Linked DNA regions of Homo sapiens: regions 2, 3 and 4 are each linked to region 1. Evidence: promoter capture Hi-C in human tissues and cell types (Jung and others, 2019). All regions are on one chromosome and are shown on one strand. The core of a region is centred on a gene start or on the middle of the fragment in contact, and the rest is flanking DNA. Distances in the headings are between cores, read along the strand shown.

Region 1 (6,829 bases), core at 1,413-3,912:
TATGTCCCATTTCCATTTTATGATGCTACTTTCTGGGCATGCCCTATCTGGTGGGTTTTGGGGGAACTCATGACCAAAGTCATAATAGAAATTTCAGGCCTCATAAAGACATCGTGGTTGAAGCAGAGGTGTTCCATTTCCAGCAAAGCTCAATAGCAAGCTAACAATTGCTTCTCAAAAGAGGAATAAGCTTTTCCAGCCTCTGGCAGTTTCTGGGTCCAAAACATGAAAAGTACCCTCTTTCCATCTTGTTTCTGCCTAAGGCTCCAATTAGCATGTTGATCTACGACAGTTACTCGCAGTTCATCAGGCCCATCCCATATAGGCCATAGATCCAGGGCCAGTTGCACTGCTTGTTTAGCTTGTTCAAAAGCCATGCTGTCTTTCTCTCCACAGTGAGAGTCATACCTTTTTCTAGTGGCTGCATTCAGATGTTGTAAAATGTTACCCAAGTAAGGAATATGATGTGTTCAGAATCCAAACAAGTCAATACATTTCTGGGCCTCCTTCTTAGTGGTAGGGGTTGCAAATTATAGTATTTTAGCCTTAGCCTTTGGTGAAGTGGACTGTTTCTTTGCATTCCATAGGATGCCAAAGAATTTTACACTTTGTGCGGATCCTTAATTTTACTAGGCTTAATTTCCCATTTTTGAGATAGGAACTGGGTTTTTACATGCTCTAAGCCCCGGCTGACTAGTTCTTCAGTTTTACCCTGATTGGGCCACCTGGACAGCTGCTTTTTTCAGCAATAGGCTGATAGCTTTGAGCCTGATCAGTCAAGACATTGACTGGCATTGGGCCAGGGCCAGTCCGGAAGTCAGATTAGCATTTTCCTTTTCCAGCTTATATTTCTCTTGTAGCAACCAGCCCCTATCTTGACACATTAACTTATAAGCAGCAATCAAACACTATCCACTTTGTGAGATTCCCTCAGCATCTCCTTTGGTGACTGGAATCCCCTGCAGCACTTCACGCACAGTCAAAGGTTTAAATTGCACTAATTTAGATTCCCAATTCCCACAAAGGCCAGTTCCCCTGAACCATTCAATCACAAAGAAGGAGAACTGGGAGTGATCCCATCTCAGGATATGGGAAATCCTTGAGCCTCCAGCCCTATCCTTCTGGTCAAAAAGGGGCCCACTTTTGTTTTCAAATCCTGTTTGTGATGCCAAAAATGTTCTGTATGGGAAACGTGGGAGAGGAGAAGAAAAGACATACATACAATAACTTTAATGGTAAACAAGCTTTAACCCACATCAATATCAATGCAGACAGAATAAACTAATGATATAATAAGCAAATGATATAATAAGCAAATAAATATAATACACAGATTGATATAATAAGCAAATTGCAGTAAGAAGAGGAGATGGGAAAAGATATATATATATATTTACCCTCACTAGACTATGGAGGATTACCAACTGAGTAGGAAGAAACAGCCCAGGCTCCAGAGTCGGCCACCCATTCATGCACAGACAAGGAGTCTCATGAAGCTTCAGGGTGGTCTGGGACCCTAGCTCTTTTGTAACGAGTTGTTTGGCATAAGGCCCAGTGAGGAGGGCCATTTGGGACTTGCCTCACGGAACACAAAAGGGTCAAGTTGTTTTTGTGATTGTCTATTGTTTTTCAACAACTAATGTATAGTAATAGAATGAAATAGACATTTCTTTGATACAGCTCTGGATGAACACCTCAGGGGCTCACAACCAGGACCTGTTCTGGGACTTGGTGACCATTGTGTCCACGTTCAATTGAGTTCAAATTTAACATTTAACTTTTCCTCCATAAATTCTCCTGTCTTCATGAATTGGCTCTGTCTAGGCAAAGGGCAAAATGAACCCCTTGGGCTGTTACATAACCTCCACCTCCTGGGTTCAAGTGATTCTCCTGCCTCAGCCTCCGGAGTAGCTGGGACCACAGATGTGCACCACCATACCCAGCTAATTTTTTACATTGTGAGTAGAGATGGGGTTTCACCATGTTGGCCAGGCTAGTCTTGAACTCCTGACCTCAAGTGATCCACCCACCTTGGCCTCCCAAAGTGTTGGGATTACTGGCATGAGCTACCTGTGCCTGACCCTAAATTATTTCTATCTCTTATAGCAGTTTGAAATTACTTAAAGGTTGTTTCAAGTTGAAAAAATAAGAAGAATGTGGATAAAAATAAAATATAAATAGATAAAAAAATTACAGGGATTACAAAATATATATGTAAATCTGGAGTGGTCAAAAATGACAAATTTGATTTATTTATAAGGTTTTATTAAAATTAGCTTTAATCGTTAATACACTATTACCAAAGTAAAAGCTGATTTTCTCTTGAACAAAAATTTTATGTATTATTAATATGACAGCAAAATACTTCTGTTCACCTTTGAATACATTCAACAAGACAGAGAGTAAAAAAGAGATAAAATGTTCCCATGCTCTGGCATGGACCAGGCTCAGCTCTGGGAGGAAGCCCTGCCTGAAAAGGCTGCAGCTTAGGCTGTCACTCTTTTCTTCACTCCGCCCAGCAGCTGATCACATCTTCTGTCACTCAGTGTCTGAGGGGGCGGGACCTTAAGCATTAGCCAATCAGAGGCGCTGGGCTGGAAACCGTCCAATCAGGCACGCAGCTGGAATGAACAGGACGGCTTCCGGATTTGGCGGGGTCTTTGTCTCTCCCTGCAGCTGGAGCTCCAGGTCGTCTGTTCACTGCTCTCTGTCTTCTTCTCCTAGAGGCCCAGCCTCTGTGGCCCTGTGTCCTGCAGGTATTGGGAGATCCACAGCTAAGACGCCAGGACCCCCTGGAAGCCTAGAAATGGTGAGAGTGCCGGTCCAGCATCCCGAGAGAGGTGAAGTGTCTGTGGCGGGACTCAGGCCTCCCCTCAGTCAGCTCCACAATCTGCACCCCGAATTCTCCTTACCCAGCTCTGCCTCAGTCCCATTCAGCCATAAGATGGCGGCTACGCTGACAGCCTGGCCCCCGGGCGTCCTGTCGCTTCCCCGCGCAGTGACTGTGCCCCTGGCCTGGAGCGCTCTGTGGGCAGCTCTGCACCCGCAGTGCCGTGTCTCTCCCAGATTGTGCAGGGACCACCGGAGGGTCTTCAGGGGAGAATGCTGACTCGCGGTGCGGGTTCATGAATGGGAAGAGCTTTGGTCTGTGGGGTTCACAGTTTCTCTTTTCTGCTATTAAAATTGTATGGGGCCGGGCGCGGTCGTTCAAGCCTGTAATCCCCGCACGTTGGGAGGCCGAGGCGGGCGGATCACTTGAGGTCAGGAGTTGAAGACCAGACTGACCAAAATGGGGAAACCCCTTGTCTACTAAAAATACAAAAATTAGGTGGATATGTTGGCGAATGTCTGTAGTCCCAGCTTCTCGGGAGGCAGAAGTGAGAGAATCGCTTGAACCCGGGAGGCGGAGGTTGCAGTGAGCTGAAATCCTGCCACTGCACTCCAGCCTGGGCGACAGAGCAAGACTCTTGTCTAAAAAAAAAAAAAAAAAAAAAAAATTATGGGAGTCACTGCAAAAATATCAAACAATTTAATCAAAGAGTGATTCAAGAATTGTAGAGCACCCAGCTATAGTTTGTAGTTTGTGGTCCATGGGAGAGGCTTGAAGAAAAGACATTTATAAAATGCATGATGAGGAAAACCAAATTCAATAATTTGTTAGGTTTAGTAATGTAGTTTCTTAATTTGTACAATCAAGGTGGAAATTTCCTGGTTATGTAATTAGAGCTTAATTGGCAGTTTATAGTTGCTGAAGCCTGAATTTTGTTTCCCCTAATGTAGTAATTTGCCAAAAAATGCACTTGAGCTTAGATTTTTTTTTTTTTTTTTTTTTAGAAATAGAAATCCGGGGACTAGAGCCTCTTCAGTCTAATTGCCTGCCACTTAATTATTTTCACATCCCACAGGGGACTGACTTTCCCTGGCATTTTTCACATGTGTCCCAAGCAGGGCCTCAAGTGTCCCCCATGTTCCTCAATTAATTATTATTATTATTATTATTTTTTGAGACGGAGTCTTGCTCTGTCGCCAGGCTAGAGTGCAGTGTCAGATCTTGGCTCACTGCAACCTCCACCTCATGGGTTCAAGCGATTCTCCTGCTTCAGCCTCTCCAGTAGTTGGGACTACAGGCAAGCGCCACCACTCCCAGCTAGTTTTCATATTTTTAGTAGAGATGAGGTTTCACCATGTTTGCCAGGAATGCTAGTTACCAAGGAAAAATATAGGGAAAATCTCTCTTCCATTTTGGCTGTAGACAATGAATATATTTCCACAGGAAAATGTGGTAGATAATTGAGGAGTTACATGGATTCATCAACACATTAGTTCCTCTTTTTGCAGGGTAAATTTTTTCTATATCCTTTTATTTTGATTTCTGAGTTAAATGCTAAATTTTAAGTGATGAAACATGGTACCTTCTAGAAGTGTTCCCATATGACTAATTTTTTACTACATTATTTTATTTATTTACTTATTTTTTTGAAACAGAGTCTCACTCCGTCACCAGGTTGGAGTGCAGTGGCGTGATCTCGGCTCACGCAACCTCTGCCTCCCAGGTTCAAGCAGTTCTCCTGCCTCAGCCTCCCAAGTAGCTGGGATTACAGGTGTGTGTCACCACGTCCAGCCAATTTTTTTGTGTTTTTAGTAGAGACAGGGTTTCACCATGTTGGCCAAAATGTTCTCAATCTTCTGACCTCGTGATCTACCCACCTTGGCCTTCCAAAGTGTTGGGATTAGAGGCGTGAGCCACAGTGCCCGGCCTACTGCATTATTTTTAAGATAAATAATAAAATAATACATACATTGTCTGAAAGAAGTAGATATATATGCTTTTCTTATAGGGGTATAAAATGCAAGCATCTTAGCCAGGTGCAGTGGCTCATGCCTGTAGTTTCAGCACTTTGGGAGGCCTAGACAGGTTGATTACTTGAGGTCAGGAATTTGAGACCAGCCTGCCCAACATGGTGAAACTCATCTCTACTAAAAATACAAAAGTTAGCCAGGTGTGGTGGCATATGCCTGTATTCCCAGCTACTTGGGAGGCTGAGGAACAAGAATGTCTTGAACCCGGGAGGTGGAGGTTGCAGTGAGCCGAGATCATGCCACTGAACTCCAGCCTGGGCCACAGAGTGAGACTTCGTCTCAAAAAAAAAAAAAAAAAAGTAAGAACCTTAAAATTTCCTTCCCTTATGTAAACACTGCGTTTGAGTAATTTCCCTGGATTTTTCAAACACATAGTTTCAAAAACTAAGTGAGTAATTCTGACATGGAAATTAAAGCTTGAACCTAGTGACTCCAAGCTAAGGCTAATAATTAAGCCTGCAACTGGATATTGAAGACTCAGTTAGTTTTTTCTGGGGAGCCTCCCGTGCAGGTGTCCAGCCTGCTCACCCCAGCCATAGAAGGAGCCTTTATCCTGAGAGAAGCTACAGAGCCCTGGAAAGCTGGGGTCCCACAGGCAGATGCAGTTGAGGTTAAGATGAAAGGAAACTGAGAGGGTCTTACTGATGATGCAGTCGTTATGTTTTGTGGCACTTTCTGTACTTTGTAAAATAAAAACATTAGATTTATGTAAAAAAAAAATGAATTCCAAAAAATTATTGCAACAGGAGAAAGTACCAACTAAATATAAGATCTTTATGGCTTGCAAAGATGTAGGCAGAAAAGGGCTTTCTTTTTTAGGGAGAGGTAAACAAGATAAGAAAGGAGGTGGGAGGTGAATGGCAAATGGAGAGTGAAAAAGTCAGATTTTAGATCAGAGGATGTCTTACCCTGAAATCAGCATGTTCTTAGGAGGAATGTAAAATGGGGTTGTATGTTGACTCAGACTGAGGGTAGCTCAAAGTTCAGGAGCCTGAGGGAGGGAAATAAACTTAAGAAAAGTATGATTAAGAAATATTTTATTTTAGTCCGGGCCCAGTGGCTCATGCCTGTGATCTCAACACTTTGGGAGTCTGAGGCAGTCGGATCACCTGAGGACAGGTGTTTGAGACCAGCCTGGCCAACATGATGAAATCCTGTCTCTACTAAAAATACAAAAATTACTGGAAGGCTGAGGTGGGCGGATCACCTGAGGTTGGGAGTTTAAGACCAGCCTGACCAACATGGAGAAATCCCATCACTACAAAAAAAAAAAAAAAATCAACAGGTGTGGTGGTGCATGCCTGTAATCCCATCTACTCGGGAGGCTGAGGCAGGAGAATCGCTTGAACTCGGGAGGTAAATGTTGTACTGAGCTGAGATTGCACCAGTGCACTCCAGCCTGGGCAACGAGAGTGAAACTCTGTCTCAAAAAAAAAAAAAAAACACCAAAACAACAAAAATTCGCCAGGTGTGGTGATGGGCACCTGTAATCCCAGCTACTTGGGAGGCTGAGGCAGGATAATTGCTTGAACCCAGGAGGTGGAGGTTGCTGTTAGCCAAGATCGCATCACTGCACTCCAGCCTGGGTGACAAAGTGAAGAAATTATTTTGAGCACTGAAGACAAATTCAGCTGTTTTTTTAATGAGAAAAAGGAGAAAATGTGCAGAGCGTGTGTCTGCCTGTGTGATAGGTAAGAAAAGAGAGCACTATCTTAGTCATAATGGGAAGAGTGTTTGTTTGCATAAATTGTTCCTGGAGCACACAAAGAATGGAGAATTTTATTAATCACAAACATTTTCCAGTATTATCTATGTGTTTCATCTTTCCCCATTTCTTTTCTTTGTTCTATGCATTTCTCCCATTTGGCTTTTCCTGGGCTGCGTCTCACATATTAAACTGGTAAACATAACTACAGTGTTTTGCTAAGTTCTGTGAGTAGCTCTACCAGATTATTAAAATTCAGAGAGG
Region 2 (6,004 bases), core at 539-3,038, 410 kb after region 1:
GTGAAGAATGTGGCAAAGCCTTCAACCGGTCCTCACACCTTACTACACATAAGATAATTCATACTGGAGAGAAGCCCTACAAATGTGAAGAATGTGGCAAAGCTTTTAACCAGTCTTCAACCCTTAGTACACATAAGTTCATTCATGCTGGAGAGAAACCCTACAAATGTGAGGAATGTGACAAAGCTTTTAATCGATTCTCATACCTTACTAAACATAAGATAATTCATACTGGAGAAAAATCTTACAAATGTGAAGAATGTGGCAAAGGCTTTAATTGGTCCTCAACCCTTACTAAACATAAAAGAATTCATACTGGAGAGAAACCCTACAAATGTGAAGTGTGTGGCAAAGCCTTTAATGAGTCCTCAAACCTTACTACACATAAGATGATTCATACTGGAGAGAAACCCTACAAATGTGAAGAATGTGGCAAAGCTTTTAACCGGTCCCCACAACTTACTGCACATAAGATAATTCATACTGGAGAGAAACCTTACAAATGTGAAGAATGTGGCAAAGCTTTTAGCCAGTCATCAATCCTTACTACACATAAGAGAATTCACACTGGAGAGAAACCCTACAAATGTGAAGAATGTGGCAAAGCTTTTAACCGATCCTCAAATCTTACTAAACATAAGATAATTCATACAGGAGAGAAATCTTACAAATGTGAAGAATGTGGTAAAGCCTTTAACCAATCCTCAACTCTTACTAAACATAGGAAAATTCATACTAGACAGAAACCCTACAACTGTGAAGAATGTGACAATACATTTAACCAGTCCTCAAACCTTATTAAACAAAATAATTCATACTGGAGAGAAACTCTACAAATGTCAAGAATGTGGGAAAGCCTTTAAGCAGTCCTCAACTCTTACTAAGCATTAAATATTGGCCGGGTGCGGTGGCTTATGCAAAATGGCTCCCAGCATTTTGGGAGGCTGAGGTGGGTGGATCACAAGGTCAAGAGATCGAGACCATCCTGGCCAACATGGTGAAACCCTGTCTCTACTAAAAATACAAAAATTATCTGGGTGTGGTGGCACGTGCCTGTATTCCCATCTACTCGGGAGGCTTAGGCAGGATAATCACTTGAACCTGGGAGGTGGAAGTTGCAGTGAGCCAAGATTGTACCACTGCACTCCAGTTTGGCAACAGAGTGAGACTCCGTCTCAAAAAAAATTTATACTGTACAAAAACCCCACAAGTGTGAAAAACATGGCAAAGCCTTTAAGAAGCCCTCAATTCTTAACAGACATAAGATAATTTATACTGGAGAGAAACTCTACAAATCAGAAAGATGTGACTACTTTTGACAACGCCTCAAACTTTTCTAACCATAAAAGTAATTATACTGGTGAGAAATCCTAGAAATCTGAAGAGTGAGATAAAGCCTTTAAATGGTTGTCACACTTCATTGTAGGTAAGATAATTCATACTGGAGAAAACGCCTACATGTGTGAACAATATGGCAAAACTTAATGCTCACACTTTATTGCTAGGAAAGCATTTATACTTGAGATAAATTATACAAATATAAAGACTGTGAAAAAGCCATCATTATCTGCTCACATTTTACTCAACACAGAGAGTTCCTGCTTAATAAAAGCATTATAAGTGCAATTACTGTCAAAAGATCTTTCAGAAAATATAAGCTTTTTTAGTGAAGAGTATTTATTTTGAAGTTGAACATCACAAATATAAAAAGGGTTGTAGTGCCTTTACTTGTATCACAGATCTTTTTGTAGACATTTTCTTCTAGAGGAAAACTCTGAAGCAGTTGATCAAACTTTGTTCAACATCAGGGAATTTATATTGAAAAATTGTGCAAATATAATAAATTTGGAAAAACAATTTTTCAAAAACTACAGCTTAGAAATCAACAGTTATACTAGAATATATTTTTTCCAGATGCAGTAAAAGTAAAATATTTAATCCATAATTAAGTCTATGCAAATATCAGAGAATTTATGGTAGAAATATATAAGGTACTGACACTTCAGATATACTAAATCAGAGTGCTAAGTATAGAAAATCTGAAACTAAAGTTGGTAGAAAAGTTATTTGTATAGAACTTTAAGAGGATCAGAAGGTTTTTTGCAGAGTTATAATTACATTCAAAGTATACTTTATTTCTTGAAAAATATTACAGATTTTTTGAAAATTGAATAATGTCATCATTCAACTCTGAAATTATTTCCTGTTGTTTCTTCATTCCTATTGGATTCACATGTGAAAGCATGGGGTTAATTGTTGCTACATCAAAGAGAGAGATTCTTTTGTTTGTTTGTTCGTTTGTTTTTTGAGACTGAGTTTCACTCTTTCGCCCAGGCTGGAGTGCATTGGCATGATCTCAGCTCACTACAACCTCTGCCTTCTGGTTTCAAGCAACTCTTCTGCCTCAGCATCCCAAGTAGCTGGGATAACAGGTGCCAGCCACCATGCCCAGCTAATTTGTGTATTTCTAGTAGAGATGGGGTTTCACCATATTGGCCAAGCTGGTCTTGAACTCCTGACCTCATGTGATCCGCCCGCCTCAGCCTCCCAAAGTGCTGGGATTACAGGCTTGAGCCACCACGCCCAGCCTGTAGCATATTTTAATAGGAGAATACAATATATAATAGTAGCAGGGTTAAGTAAGGCATCCATCATCTGTAGCATTTCTCCTTTGTTTTACAAACAATCCAATTCTACACTTTAAAAAAAAATTTTTAAATGTACAATTAAATTTTTATTTACCACAGTGTTATTTTTATCGTCATAATAAAAATTATATACGAGTATAAATGAAATTCATTTCTAAATTCTTAATAAATATTTTCTCATGCCAGGTGTGGTGGCTCACGTCTGTAATCCCAGCACTTTGACAGGCTGAGCGAGGGAGTGGATCTTGAGGTCAGCAGTTCGAGACCAGCATGGCCAATATGGAGAAATCCCGTCTCTACTAAAAATACAAAAATTAGCCAGGCGTGGTGGCATGTGCCTGTAATCCCAGCTACTCAGGAGGCTGAGGCAGGAGAATCGCTTGAACCTGGGAGGTGGAGGTTGCAATGAGCCAAGATCACCCCACTGCACTCCAGCCTGGGCAACAGAGCGAGACTCCATCTCAAAAAGTAAAATATATTTTCAAATTTTCTATATATTTTTCTTTGAACATGTGGCCTGTCTGCCTGCAAACATATACAGACTTTTAGTTTTGATTCATATAGAGTTAAATACATGTTAGTCTAAAGACAAATCTTAGGTGTAAGAAAATTATGGAGTTAAGTATGTGTGTGTGAGTATGAGTTTGTACATATTTTCAGAAGGAAAGAATGATACGGGAACAAAAATCATTTTAATATGGTGACTACTATAAAACTAAAAACCTAAAAAATGCTGAAAGCAAATGTATACTTTTTGGTTTGTATTGAATTTATTACTGTACAGTCTATGACTTAGAGTTCTGAATCTTCCCAAGCAAATTCTCTGTATATACTTGCCTGGTACTCATGCTAGACCCATACTTTTTTTGTTTCTTACATTTTTTTTGTTTTATATTTTATGAAGTATTCATTATGTGAGCTGGTCTGCGATTATAAGAATTTTTATGAAATTTAGTGCACACAAAATAATCTTTAGATGTAATTCCAAAAGTAGTGTATTAAGTTACATTTTATTTAGTTAGAGCACTCCATTTTGTTCTTTTAAGAGGAGAACAATATATAGGTTTTCTTTAGTGATTTGTTCCTTTCACTTTTTATAATTGACATAAGCATATTTATTGAGTCAATTTGTTCAGCTAAGTACTAGGGAGGCTTCATTAGTCATGAGGATGTTTTTATATATAAATGTAGCAAACATATATTACAGTTTTCACTGTGTAATAGATTATCCATAATAATTCATAAATATTCCTGCTGAAGTTAGTTTGTAACTTCAAGTCAAAGATGAAAAATATCAATGGTGAAGATTGATTGTTCATATAGAGAGGACATTTTTTTTCCAGACTGTAAAACTGAATCTTGTTGAATTTAAAGAGAAATTCTGGCAGAGGCAGATGAATCACCTGAGGTCAGGAGTTTGAGACCAGCCTGATGAATATGGTGAAACCCAGTCTCTACTAAAACTACAAAAATAGCCAGGCATGGTGGTGGGTGCCTGTAATCCCACTCGGGAGGCTGAGTCAGGAGAATTGCTTGAACCCGGAGGTGAAGATTGGAGTAAGCCAAGATTGTGCCGTTGCACTACAGCCTGGGCGACAGAGCGAGACTCCATATAAAAAAAAAAAAAAAAAAAAAAGAGCTGGGCGTGGTGGCTCACGCCTGTAATCCCAGCACTTTGGGAGGCCAAGGTGGGCGAATCACTTGAGGTCGGGAGTTTGAGACCAGGTGACCAACATGGAGAAACTCCATCTCTACTAAAAAATACAAAATTAGCCCGGTGTGGTGGCGCATGCCTGTAATCCCAGCTACTCGGGAGACTGAGGCAGGAGAATCGCTTGAACACGACAGGTGGAGGTTGCAGTGTGGCGAGATTGCACCATTGCACTCCAGTCTGGGCGACAAGAGGGAAACTCCATCTGAAAAAAAAGAGAAATTCTTTTATTTTCTACTTCTCTTCAGATTTGTCTTATGCATTTTCCAACTATGTATGCATCACAGCTATTCTTTTTCTGAGTTATAGCTACAGTTTTCTTACTGTTGTCTTCATGCCATTTCATTTCACATGGTACTTTGTAGATTTTGATGAGGAAGTTGGTATTTTTAGTGCACACAAAAATTGGTTTTAACTGTAGAGTTTGCTTATCAGAACAGTTAAAAGGCAGCCAGGTGTGGCTCACGCCTGTAATCCCAGCACTGAGATAGGCCAAGGAGGGTGGATCACTTGAGGTCAGGAGTTTGAGACCAGCCTGACCAACATGGTGAAACCCTGTGTCTACTAAAAATACAAATTTAGCCACGCGTGGTGACGCACGCCTGTAATCCCAGCTACTCGGAAGGCCGAGGGAGCAGAATCGCTTGAACCTGGGAGGTAGAGGTTGCGGTGAGCCGAGACTGGGCCACTGCACTTCAGCCTGGGCAACAAGAGCGAAATTCTGTCTAAAAAAAAAAAAAAAAGATAAAAGGTGCAATACTGTCCACAGGTAAGATAATTAAATTAGTCAGCTTTGTTTTTAAAAGAAAAATCTTACTAGATTCTTATACAAAGTGTGGCAAATATAAAACTTGCTTGAAAATACAGAAATTAAATTTTTAAGAGAGTTAATGGTAAGTAAACAATTTTAAAGTTAATTTTCTATGATATACTTACAGCACAACTTATATTTCCATGCAGAATCTTTTATTTTTAAGTGTGAGTGTTAAAGGTTACAAAATAATGAAATGACTTCAGTGGATTTAAAATTTTGAAAAATAATGTCTTTTCTATATTGATTTTACAATTTGGAGAAATTTTTCACTCATTTTTTATATATTTTTTAGTGGGAGAGGTTTAGTCTACAGTTTTTATTTTTAGTCACCAAACTGTAGCCAACTCTTGGGTCATTTTCTCTGAAAAACATTTGGAGATCATGACAGCGTTTGGATTAAAACATTTCTGTTACTTTGCATGCAAACTAGTTTACTGTGTTCACAGAGTGGCCAGTCATGGGACCATAAGCAACACCTGCTCTTTGAGTGTCTTTCATACCGTTACCATCAGCACCAGAAACTCCAGGTGCCCCAAGCTTAAAGTAAAAATCCTAAAGTACGTTGGCTCCTCCCATGCAATGTGCTGGGTCCAAACCATGCTGTTAAATATCAGAAGTTTCTATGGTTATGATTAAAAAATTAAATGACAATAATAGCCCCAAAACTATATATTTTTGATACTATTTAACCAAGATTATCACAAAGACACAGTATTTGACACATTGTTATTCTTCTATGTTTTATAAATATTTTAATGTGACAGGTAGAATCTGTACTTTTTCTGTAGAACGTAATATTTTGAAGTATATATATAGTTAAATTATTATTTC
Region 3 (6,796 bases), core at 4,107-6,606, 260 kb after region 1:
GAGGCAGTGCTTAGCTAAGTGGTTATCAGCCCCGTCTTGTTTTTTTTGTTTTGTTTTGTTTTCTGTTTTTGAGACAGGATCTCACTCTGTCACCCAGTCTGGAGTGCAATGGCATAATCTCGGCTCAGTGAAACCTCCGCCTCCTGGGTTCAAGCCATTCTTATGCCTCAGCCTCCTGAGTAGCTGGGATTACAGGCACCCGCCACCATTCCTGGCTAATTTTTTGTGTTTTTAGTAGAGATGAGGTTACACCATGTTGGCCAGGCTGATCTTGAACTCCTGACCTCAGGTCATCCATGTGCCTCGGCCTCCTAAAGTGCCAGGATTACAAGTGTGAGCCACCGCGCCCGGCCTCTGCCCAGTCTTCTAATTAGGATTACATGGCAGAAATCTCTGTACTTATGCCCTTTCCATGGATTTCGTTTATTGTTCTGGGTGGAAGCATCCATGTTGTTTTAATGAAGTGCCTCATGTGACTCTAAGGTGAGGCCAGAATCAAGTATGAGGGCTTCAATATACATTCATGAGAGCTAAGTGCCACCTTTGCACTAAAGGGTGGTCTCAGGGCCCGTTCTGTTTGGGTTTGGTAGGGACAGGGGAGTGTGGCTCATATTTCCATTACTGTAGCAGAAATTGCTGGTGTCTGTGGCAGAGGAGGGCACCTAAGGACAGGAAAAGAGAAACATACTTTTATATTCATAGAGCAGCTCGTTGTTCCTGAATCCTTTCTGTTATAAAGGACAGAGAAATGGGTGGACTTTTTCTGCAGGACCTTCCTTCTGTTTGTGTGCGTGATGGTAGCAGACAAAAAGGTGGTGCTGACATTTTTAAAGGAACGTTCTCAAAATGCAGGTATAACTTGTCCAGAGAATGTTATCTAAAAAGGATTTTCAGAGAAAGAAAGAGAAAAAATGGCTTTTTTTCAGCTAAACGTGTCTCAGAAGAAGAGCTGTGTGCACTCTGCTTCATGGAATGCCATGTGTTTAGTACTTGCAAATCTTTACTTCTCGATTTGTGTTTTTCCTTCTTAAGGAGTTTGTTTTAACTACATTAAAAAATTCTTATAATATTCAAGGCTGTCTGCAAAACATTTCTTTACTATATACCAGAGCTTTCTCTACATTCTCTACATCATGGCTTCTTATATGCCACGCAGAATTCCTACCATAAATTTATAATCGGCACTACTAAAAATGTTCCCTTTGTGGCTGTTAAACATGGGGAGATGTAGATACTCAAGATTCCTATTGGGGGAAAGCTGGGGTCCCTAGTAAAGATGGAGAATATGTAATGTTGAGGTTTCATCTGTTTTCTCTATTAACTCTATGCAGAACAGGATTAAGAAAATGCTTATTTAAACAGAATACCATTTATTACCCAGAAAGTTCTGAAAAAAATTATTAGGAGATACCTGCTCTCTAGGGTGCTAAAGAAAGACTACTTAAAATCACTGTTAAAAATAACAGAACATGGGAGATATCTGTATTTTGAACTTTGTATAAAACTGATGTATCTTTATGGTTGCATTCAGATTATAATTTACTGTTTGAGGGGCAATATCTTAGCAGTGATGCCGTGTTCTTCTATGTGCATCAGCACATCATAAAAATTTGTTGGCTGGGTGTGGTGGCTCACACCTGTAATCCCAGCACTTTGGGAGGGCGAGGTGGGCGGATCACCTGAGGTCAGGAGTTCGAGACCAGACTGACCAACATGGAGAAACCCCGTCTTTACTAAAAATACAAAATTAGCTGGGCATGGTGGTACATGCCTGTAATCCCAGCCACTTGGGAGGTTGAGGCAGGAGAATTGCTTGAACCCAGGAGGCGGAGGTTGCAGTGAGCCGAGATGGTGTCATTGCACTCCAGCCTGGGCAACAACAGCAAAACTCCATCTCAAAGAAAAAAAAAAGAAGAAAGAAATTTAGAAGTTCAGACTTTACTCCAGATCTTCTGAAGAAAAAAAGTCTGCACAACAGAATCTCCAGTTTATTGTTCACCTTTAAAGTTGAGAGGTACCTTCGAACTCAACATGTCTTTTTTGTCTGAAAAATATACACAACTCAAACTTTATGATGTAAATATAGCACTCGAAGTGTACAAATTTTTGTTTATGCCCTTAATTTTATGCTTCTCATCCAGAGAAGTATCATATATATACTGGTGTTATGGATCTTATGCCATTCTCTTCTCTCAGAGTTAGAGAAAACATTAGATAATATTTCTGTGTGAAAAATTATTGGGGCCGGGCATGGTGGCTCATGCCTGTAATCCCAGCATTTTGGGAGGCCAAGGCGGGTGGCTCACCTGAGGTTGAGAGTTCGTGACCAGCCTGACCAACATGGAGAAACCCCGTCTCTACTAAAAATACAAAATTAGCCGAATGTAGTGGTGCATGCCTGTAATCCCAGCTACTCAGGAGGCTGAGGCAGGAGAATCGCTTGACGCCGGGATGCAGAGGTTGCCTCTGTCTCAAAAAAAAAAAAAATTATTGGATAATTTCAGTCATTCCTGCAAATCAGAACCAATTCTCTTTATTCTGTCATTTCACTTTAATTCAAATAATAAATTCTGCCCGTGGCCACTTGGTAAATATACGTGTGTCTTGTGTGCTTGTGTTTTTCAGGGGCCATTGACATTTAGGGATGTGGCCATAGAATTTTCTCTGGAGGAGTGGCAATGCCTGGACACTGCTCAGCAGGATTTGTATAGAAAAGTGATGTTAGAGAACTACAGAAACCTGGTCTTCTTGGGTGAGAATAACTTTAGTACACAATTACTAGTATACCCTAAAGGTTTCATTTCTCATTTTTTGAGAATAATTTTTGGTAATTTATGCTTTGCATAAATGAGTTTCTGATACTTGTTCTTAAGAAAACCTTGAGGATTTTTCCATATAGGAAAGAATTTTTTCAAGAAGTTTTATCTTGACTTAAACTTTCCACATTCCTGGGCTGATCTGTATCCTTCACTCTAGATTAGTGGCAATTCCAGAAATTTAGTGGCATAAAATATTGTTGCCCATATCTTAAAATCTATTTGCCGCCACCAATTTTTGATTAATGAATGCCAGGCAGTGAAATTAAGAACCTACAAATGTAAAATATTTTCTAAATACTTAGAAATTTCTGTTATAAATTAGTATTTTTAGGATTAATTTTCTAGAATATTCTACCACATCCTCTTTACTAAGCACAGTACTAGGTTGGTAACTGAAGAATATGAGAAAGATTCATGTTATTTATTTTCAATAAAGCAGGTATTGCTGTTTCTAAGCCAGACCTGATCACCTGTCTAGAGCAAGGAAAAGAGCCCTGGAATATGAAGAGACATGCGATGGTAGATCAACCCCCAGGTAGGTGAGAGTGAACACAACAGACGACATGAATGAGAGGTCCAAAAAAGAAGAAAGCCAATGCTTAAAATGTTATTTGAGAATCTGTGTTCCAAAGCAAATATTTTCTGGGAAGCCTGAGTTTTTTTTTTTAATTTTGCCCTCGCATAGGGTCATCTTCTGTCTTATGCTTTTAAATTCAAGGATTCTTTCCCCTTGGTGATCTCCCTTCAAGTTTGCTATCAGAACCAAAGTCCTCTTCATGGCATGCGAGACTCACAATCTGACTGCTTTTCCATTGTTTTGGGGGACACACAAATATCTACATGATTTTGAGAAACTCTATGTTAAACTATTTTCTTTTCTTTTTTCTTTCTTTTTTTTTTTTTTTGAGACTGAGTTTCATGCTCGTTGCCCAGGCTAAAGTGCAATGGCACGATCTAGGCTCACTGCAACCTCTGCCTCCTGGATTCAAGCAATTCTCCTGCCTCAGCCTCCTGAGTAGGTGGAATTACAGGCACCTGCCACCATGCCCAGTTAATTTTTTGTATTTTTAGTAGAGACAGGGTTTCACCATGTTGGGCAGGCTGGTCTCAAACTCCTGACCTCAAGTGATCCACCCGCCTTGGCCTCCCAAAGTACTAGGATTACAGGTGTGAGCCACTGCACCTGGCCAAACTATTTTCTTAGTTCTCTTTTTGCATCATGTCTGAAATGTGTAATAGTAGTGGTTTCTGTTCCACTGTTTTTTGTTGTTGTTGTTAACTTTTCTGCACACTCCATTCTGTTCTTATTACTATATTCTCGAAATATAGTTTGAAATTATAAAGCATCATGTCTTTCTACTTTGTTCTTTTTCCTCACGATTGCTTTGGCTATTTGAAGTTTATTGTTGTTTCTTGTAAATTTTAGAATTGTATTTTCCATTACTGTGAAGAAAAATGCCACTGAAATTTTGATAGGGAATTTATTGAATCTATAGATTACTTAGATAATAGGACACTTTAACAATATTTATTTTTTCAATCTGTAGACATGCAATATTTTTAAATTTGTGTCTTCTCTAATTTCTTTTATTAATAACATATCTTTCGTTGTAAAGATTTTTTACTTCCTTGTTCTCAGAAATTTATCATTTTAATGCTATTTTAAATTGTTTTCTTTCTCTGTTAAAGTGTATGGAACAATAACTTCATACTTGTGTGTTAATTTTATGTTTTGCTAATTTACTGAGTGTATTAATTCAGACAAATTTCAATGTAGTGTTCATGGTTTTTTATATATAAAATCATATGATCCACAAACAGCAACTTTTTACTTGTGTTCAATTTCAGTGGCTTTTTAAAAATGTTTTTGACTCATTATTCTGCCACATACTTCCAGTGCTATGTTAAAATAGAAGCATTGACAATGGGCACAATGTAGTTTTGCATTAGTGTCTGTGAATTTGAAGGAGCAAACAACTCCTCAAGCTTCTATAAACTGGTTTCAGTAGGTAAAGATCTTTTTCTGTCATGTCTCCAGGGTCATAGAATGCTCTCTGGGTTTGTAGTGGAGAGGGGGTGTAGCTTGGTCACAAGGCTGCTGGGTCTGCACTAGGGTCCACCTTTAGTTGGCTTGTTACAGGGGCTTGGGTAGTGGTAATTCCCATTTTATTTTTGGACAGACTGAATATCCTTCAACACTTTGATCTGTAGAGCAGACAATAGGGCAGGTTTCTGCAGTCAGGTTCATATATAATGGTCCTTATATCAGGATGTGAATGAGTATGGCGTTTATTGAGTACCGGAGAGGATTACTGTAGTTATGCAGACAAATTCTTTTTTAATGGTATATCAGTGTTGCACAGCAGATTTTATGAGTAAATATGTCACTTACTATTACTGCGCAGTTTCATATCAGTGTTTTGTTAGTGTAGGTTTCTTAACATTGAGTTATTGTGTTTTTTTGTTTCACTTTTGTATTATAATTTTAGACAGTTTGCAATTCGGTTTATCTCTTATAATTAAGAGATAAATCAGCCATATGTCTGTCACAATTAGATATATATGTGTGTGTGTGTTTATCTATAAATATGACCCCAATATTGGTTATGGCTTATCTTGTATATATTCTTTCTTAGCCAATTTTCAGTGGTTGTTTTATCTCACCTAAGTGAGTAGTCATGGAAATATTTTCACCATCTCTTATTTTCACCATGTGTTTAATGATGATGTTTCTCTCACCTTTGTGTGAGAGAAACACTTTTGTAATTTGAAGGTAATTTTTGAAAAGATTTATAAATCTGTATTTTTTTCAGTTTTTCCTTTAGAAAAATTAATTGTTGTAAAAACACATAATATTTACCATCTTAAATCTATTTAGGTGTACCTTTTAGGGCCAGACATGGTGGTGGCTCACATCTGTAATCCAGGATTATTTGAGCTCAAAAGTTTGAGACCAACCTGGGAAACATATGGAGAGTCCCTCTCTACAAAATGTTTTTTAAAAATAGCCAGGCATAGTGTTGTGCATCTGTGGTTCAGGCTACTTGCAAGACTGAGGTGGGAGGGTTACTTGAGCCTCAGAGTTTGAGGCCGAAGTGAGCCATAATTGTACCACTGCACTCCAGCTTTTTGACAGAGTGAGACTGTGTCTCCAAAAAAAAAAAAAAAAACCACAGCTCTACATTTCAGGCAGGCATGTTAATTATATTCACATTGTTATGCAAAAGACTTAGATATTTTACATTTTGTGAAACTAAAACTCAATACCCATTAAATAACAGCAACCCATTTTACCCTCTTTCCAGCCCTTGACAAACACCCTTCCACTTTCTGTTTTTATGAGTGTGACTAATTAAAATATCCCATATCAGTGGAATCATACTGTATCCATCATTTCGTTACTGGCTTATTTCAGGTGACATAATATTCTCAAAGTTTATCTTAAAATGTGACAAGATTTTCTTTTTTTTTTTTTTTTTTATTTTTGAGACGGAGTCTCCTGTCACCCAGGCTGGAGTGCAATGACGCAATCTCGGCTCACTGCAACCTCTGCCTCCCTGGTTCAAGCGATTCTCCTGCCTCAGCCTCCCGAGTAGCTGGGACTACAGGCATGTGCCACCATGCCCAGCTAATTTTTTTCTTATTTTTAGTAGAGAGAGGGTTTAACCATGTTGGTCAGGCTGGTCTCAAACTCCTGACCTCAGGTGATCTGCCATCCTCGGCCTCCCAAAGTGCTGGGATTACAGGTGTGAGTCACACGCTTGGCAAGATTTTGTTTTTTAAGACTGAATAATATTTCGCTCTACACATATGTTACATTTTTGATATGCTTATAAATCAAGAGACACCTGGGTTGCTGCAGCCTTTTAGCTTTTGTGAATACTAGTACAATAAACATGGATGTTCAAATATGTCTTCCAGGTCATGTGTTGCATATTTTAAATTGATAAAGAGGATTGCTGTATTTGATGATAATT
Region 4 (6,023 bases), core at 3,132-5,631, 340 kb before region 1:
CCACCTATTGATGAAAAAAGCAGCTGTCCAAATGGCCCCATCATGGTAAAACTGAAGAACTAGTTAGCTAGGCTTGGAGCAGGTAAAAACCCAGCTACTGGCCAGGCACAGTGGCTCATGCCTGTAATCCTAGCACTTTTGGAGGCTGAGGTGGGTGGATCATGAGGTCAGGAGATTGAGACAATCCTGGCAAACACGGTGAAACCCAGTCTCTACTAAAAAATACAAAAAATTAGCCAGGCGTGGTGGTGGCTGCCTGTAGTCCCAGCAACTTGGGAGGCTGAGACAGGAGAATGGCGTGAACCAGGGAGGCAGAGCTTGCAGTGAGCAGAGATTGCACCACTGCACTCCAGCCTGGGTGACAGAGTGAGACTCCGTCTCAAAACAAACAAACAAACAAACAAAATAAGCAAAACCCAGCTCCTGTCTCAAGGATGGGAAATTAACCTTAGTAAAATTCAAGGACCTGCACAAAGTGTACAATTCCTTGACATCTTATGGAATGCAGAGAAATAGCCCATTTTACCAAAGGCTAAGGCTAAAATACCAGAATTTGCAACCCCTAGCACCAAAAAGGAGGACCAGAAATTTATTGGTTTGTTTGGATTCTGGAAACATGATATTCCCCACTTGGGTAACATTTTACAACCTCTGCATGTAGTCACTAAAAAACACTATGACTTTCACTGGGGAGAGAAAGAGAGCATGGCTTTTAACAAGCTAAACAAGTGGTGCAACTGGCCCTGGATCTGTGGCCCATATGGGATGGGCCAGTAGAACTGCAAGTAACTGTCCCAGATCAACCTGCTAATTTGAGCCTTAGGCAGAAACCTTTCGGGTTTGGGACCCAGAAACTGCCAGAGGCTGGCAAAGCTTATACCCCTTTGTAGAAGAAATTGTTAGCTTGTGATTGGGCTTTGCTGAAAAGAGAACACCACTGCTTCAACCTTGATGTCTTTATGAGGCCTGAAATTCCTATCATGGCTTGGTGTCATGAATTCCCCAAAACCCACCAGATAGGACATGCCCAAGGAAGTAGCATCATAAAATGGAAATGGTACATACAAGACCAGGCTAAGCCAAAACCAAAGGGGTTATCACTTTTACATGAGGATGTACGAAACTTGTCCGCTCAAAAAACCACCAAACTATCCTGCAGATAGGAAAGAAACCCCCCCCACAATCCACCCAAAGGGGCCAATCTTTTAAATAACTAAGCCCAAATGATCAGAAACATGCTTAATTTATGGATGGATCCACAAAATACATTGGTGGGACCCAATGCTGGAAGGCTGTGGCTTCTGTTAATCCTGTTAAAACATAAGCATTACTGGCCAGATGCAGTGGCTCATGCCTGTAATCCCAGCACTTTGGTAGGCTGAGTTGGGCAGATCACGAAGTCAGGGGTTCGAGGCCAGCCTGGTCAACATGGTGAAACCCCATTTCTACTAAAAATTACAGAAATTAGCCAGGGTGGTGGTGTGCACCTGTAATCCCAGCTACTCGGGGGAGTGAGGCAGGAAAATCACTGGAATCCCAGGAATCAGAGGTTGCAATGAACCAAAATCACACCACTGTACTCCAGCCTGTGCAACAGACTGAGACTCAATCTCAAAAAGAAAAAAAAAATAACAAACAAACAAAAACATAAGCATTCCTGATGAAGGAAGTGGTGGGAGCAGCCAGTTAGCTGAACTAGTATCCATATTCTAAGCTCTTCAGGAAGAGGCCAGAGAGATCTGTCACTTGTATACCGACTCTTGGTCAGTAGCAAATGGTCTTACTACCTCTATGCTCCAATGACAACAAAACAAATGGCTAATTGGGAATAAAGGGGCTTGGGGAAAACAATACTGGAAAGATATCTCAATCCTGGCACAGACTACCATTATCACTGTTTTCCTTTTTTTTTTTTTTTTTTCTTTAACGCAGAGTCTAGCTCTGTCACCAGGCTGGAGGGCAGTGGCACAATCTAGGCTCACTGTCACCTCCGCCTCCCAGTTCAAGCCATTCTCCTGCCTCAGCCTCCCAAGTAGCTGGGATTACAGGCACACGTTGCCACCCCCAGCTAATTTTTGTAGTTTTAGTAGAGACAGGTTTTCACCATGTTGGCCAGGATGATCTTGACCTCCTGACATCGTGATCTGCCCACCTCAGCCTCCCAAAGTGCTGGGATTACAGGCATGAGCCATCGTTCCTGGCCCTTTTTCCATGTTGATGCTCATGGGTCTCTGCTTTCTTTTGACAGACCATTTAATTAGCAGGAAGATCAACAGGCCAAAATTTCCACCATAACTGTAAACTTGAATGTGCATGAATGGAATACAATGTGTTCAAGCCTTGCAATGAGAGGCATTATAATGTATGGTGCTATAATTGGTAGTGATTACCGGGGAGAGTTAAAGGACATTTTATACAATACCACTCCAGATTTTTTTGCTATAAGACCGCAGATGCCTGTTGCTCAATTATTAGTGGTACCTTGTCAACAATTATCCCGTGAGGAAATCTCTGCCCCAACAGAGGCTACATACAGAATTGGGGGATTCAGATCCACTCCTACAGGTAGCTTAAATCCTGGAGCCAATATATGGATACAGGGTTCAACAGATCCTGCCCCTAAGGCTGGTGACCTTGTAGCTATGAAAGCAGAAAATGAAGGCATAGTACAATTTCCTAAAGATGAAAAACAATATGTTCCCCTCTGTTTTTGTTATTACAAGGAATAACCTATCTACTAATGGTCAGCACCTGTGTCTTTGTGTCTAAAGCCAAGAATAAATTCATTTACTAGGTAGCCACTGCTGCAACAAAAGCCAATCACAGAGAATGTTGGCTGTACATCGAGTTGCCAGAGGCTGCCAGGAATGGGCTACCTTGAAGAATCGTCCCTGACAATATTTCTGAATGGCTATGTCGTTATCAATGGGGCCACAACAACAACACTTGTAATCCAACCTGGACTTCCTTTCACCACACTAAGCAATCTGTCTTTGCCCAGGTCAGACAAAAGGTGAACTCCACCCTCACCTTCCATCAAAAGCCTTGGTATTTTGCCCAATATTCCTGGAACGGTATATATTGGAAACCTGCTGTGCTGGTGGCTGGATTCCACACAGCCCCTGCTTCATCTGGAGGCCTTAAATGGCTCCTCTAATGTTACTCTGGGGTTTCTCCAGACAATTGTCAACACATACTCCAAATCAACAACATTGCCCCCAATGAACCACAATCTCTTTCCTATTTTAATAACACATTAGTACAGTATGTTTACAGTAGGTCCATGGCTGTCCCCTGGGGGGCCCTCTGGGTATGCAGATCCTGTGGGTGTTGGTACCTGCCCCCACACTGGGCAGGGAGATCACTTGTGGGTGGCCATTAATTCCATTCACCATCCGGGATAATATCCCCCTCCCAAGTAATCTGGATGCTTACAAACACCACTGGTTATGAATGTGCCGGCCTCCTTGGTGGCGATACCTTATCACAGTATTCTCCCCTGCCGCTAGAACAATCCTGCTTCACCAACAAATTAAAATATTAAGCTTATATGTAGAAAAAGCTCTTAATGATAGTAGCACTGGACTTATGCTGTTATCAGATGAATTTGCTCAGCTGCGTACTGTTGTGTTGCAAAATCAAATGGCATTAGATATGCTTACCGCAGCCCAAGGAGGGGTTTGCGCCTTACTGCATACTGGATGTTGTGTGTATATCCCTGGCAATTCTCACAATATTAGTCTCCTTGCAAAGCCATGAGTATGTTTTTTTTTTTAAATTGTGCTTTTAATTCTCCTATGCTTACCCTGTATCCATAATCTATGTCAACTATGAGTTCCCCATGTATCTATAACGGTATTTTAATACAATTGAGTACCGAATTGAGGCCGAATGTTGACGAAAAGTTAAGTATTAAATTTGAACTCAATTGAACGTGGACACAAATAAAGGTCACCAAGTCTTGGCACAGGTTGTGTGAGCCCCTTTGAGGCGTTCATTCAGCACTGTTTCAGAGAAGTCTCTATTTCAATCTATTCCTATATGTTAGTTATTGTAAAACAATAGCCAATCACAATAACAAGTTGACCTTTTTGTGTTTCTTGAGCCCAGTCACAAAGGGCCCTCGTGACTGGGCTTCATGCCAAACAACTTGTTACAAGAAGAGCTAGGGTCCCAGACCACACTAAAGCTTCAAGAAACCTCTCCTAGTCTGTGCAAGGACTGTTGGCTGACTCTGGAGCCCAGACTGTTGCTTCCTGGTCTGGTGATAAATCCTCCATAGTCTGGTGAGTGTAAATATATATATATATACACACATATATATATATATTCCCTTCTCCCCTTCCCATTGCAATTTTCTTATTATATAAATTTACTTACTATATCTGCATTGCCATTTACGTGGGATAAATCTTGTTTATCTTTAAAGGTATTTTGTGTGTATGTCTTTTCTTCTCCACTCACTCATTTCCTGCAAAGAACACCATATTTCTCAGAGCCTTTGTTGGTTCCTTTTTATTATTTTTTCTTTAATCGTGTCTGCATGCCTTATTTTAGCAAAGTGGTCTTCAAACTCTGATATCCTTCTTCTGCTTGGTCAGTTTGGCTATTGATACTTTTGTATGCTTCATGAAGTTCTCGTGCTGTGTTTTTCAGCTCCATCAGGTCATTTATATTCCTCTCCAAACTGGTTATTTTAGTTAGCAGTTCCTCTAACCTTTTATCAAGGTTCTTAGCTTCATTGAATTGGGTTAGAACATGTTTCTTTAGCTCAGCAGAGTTTGTTGTTAACCGTCATCTGAAACCTACTTCTGTCAATTCATGCATCTCATTCTCTGTTCAGTTCTGTACCCTTGCTCAAGAGACATTTTGATCATTTGGAAAAGAGGCACTCTGGCCTTTCAGCCATTTTTTGTTGATTCTTTCTCATCTTGAGTTTGTCTAGTTTCAATCATTTGAGGGTGCTGACCCTTGGATGGTTTTTTTTTTTTTTTGGACACAGTCTCTGTCACCCATGCTGGACTGCAGTGGCACCATATCAGTTCACTGCAAATTCTGCCTCCAAGGTTCAAGTGATTCTCATGTCTCAGACTACTGAGTAGCTGGGAATACAGGCATGCACAAGGATGCCTGGCTAATTTTTGTATTTTTTAGTAGAGAGGAGGTTTTACCATGTTGGCCAAAGTATTGGGATTACAGGTGTAAGCCACTATGTGCAGCCTTGGATGAGGTTTTTGTGGGTACTTTTTTTTCTTGTTGATGCTGTTGTTGTTGCTTTCTGTTTGTTTTTCTTTCAATGGTCAGGTCCATCTTCTGTAGGGTTGCTGCAGTTTGCTAGGGTTCACTTCAAGCCCTATCCATCTGGTTCACTCCCGTGCCTAGAGATGTTACTCAAGGAGGTTGGAGAACAGCAAAGAAGAATGTCTGTTCCTTCCTCTGTCATCTCTGACCTCAAGAGACACAAATCTGATACCAGTAGAATTGCTCCTGTATAGGGTGTCTGACAATTCCTATTGAAGGTGGAATGGGGAGCAGATGGGGAGCAGAACCCATTTAATGAAGCACTTTGACTGTCCTTTGGTGGAGGGAGGTGTTTTGCTGTGGGAAAATCCACTCATCTGGGCTGCTTAAATCCCTCAAAACTAGCAGGAGGAAAGGCTAAGTCTGCTGGTCCACAGAGACTGCAGCCACCCCTCCTGCTAGGGTTCTGCTCTGATCCTTGTTATTTCTTTTTTTCTGCTGGGTTTGGGTTTGGCTTGTTCTTGTTGCTCTAGTTCTTTGAGGTGTTATCTTAGATTGTCTACTTATGCTCTTTCAGACTTTTTAGTAGGCACTTGATGCTATGAACTTCCCTTTTAACACCACTATTGCTGTATCCCAGATGTTTTGTTAGATTGTGTCATTATTATTGTTCAGCTCAAAGATTTTTAAAATTTCCATCTTGATTTCATACAACAATCATTCAAAAACAGGTTGATTGTAAATTTTATGTTTTATTTAATTTCCATGTATTTATTTAATTT

The links. The method cuts DNA at HindIII sites, captures the fragments that hold promoters and counts their contacts. A contact is called where the count stands out against the background at its distance.
Region 2: a fragment that was not itself captured here is called in contact with the fragment with the promoter of ZNF66 in region 1 in 1 of the 25 tissues and cell types used here (aorta).
Region 3: a contact is called between a fragment that was not itself captured here and the fragment with the promoter of ZNF66 in region 1, in 1 of the 25 tissues and cell types used here (pancreas).
Region 4: a fragment that was not itself captured here is called in contact with the fragment with the promoter of ZNF66 in region 1 in 1 of the 25 tissues and cell types used here (bladder).

What each region holds. Positions count from the first base shown.
Region 1 is chr19:20,773,642-20,780,470 of GRCh38, forward strand. ZNF66 (zinc finger protein 66) reads left to right here and starts at 2,663. Exons shown (of 4, transcript NM_001355197.2): 1 at 2,663-2,809. The coding sequence starts at 2,807. The HindIII fragment of the contact is 10,177 bases long and covers 718-6,829 here.
Region 2 is chr19:21,183,172-21,189,175 of GRCh38, forward strand. It overlaps ZNF431 (zinc finger protein 431), which reads left to right. Exons shown (of 5, transcript NM_133473.4): 5 at 1-6,004. The coding sequence ends at 863. It also overlaps the pseudogene VN1R82P. Among named protein-coding and RNA genes, the nearest start is that of ZNF431, 44 kb to the left of the region's middle. The HindIII fragment of the contact is 3,792 bases long and covers 1-3,684 here.
Region 3 is chr19:21,030,831-21,037,626 of GRCh38, forward strand. It overlaps ZNF430 (zinc finger protein 430), which reads left to right. Exons shown (of 5, transcript NM_025189.4): 3 at 2,626-2,752; 4 at 3,256-3,354. Among named protein-coding and RNA genes, the nearest start is that of ZNF430, 14 kb to the left of the region's middle. The HindIII fragment of the contact is 7,227 bases long and covers 1,744-6,796 here.
Region 4 is chr19:20,433,325-20,439,347 of GRCh38, forward strand. All of the region lies in intron 1 of LOC105372317 (a long non-coding RNA gene), which reads left to right. Among named protein-coding and RNA genes, the nearest start is that of MIR1270, 37 kb to the left of the region's middle. The HindIII fragment of the contact is 4,344 bases long and covers 2,210-6,023 here.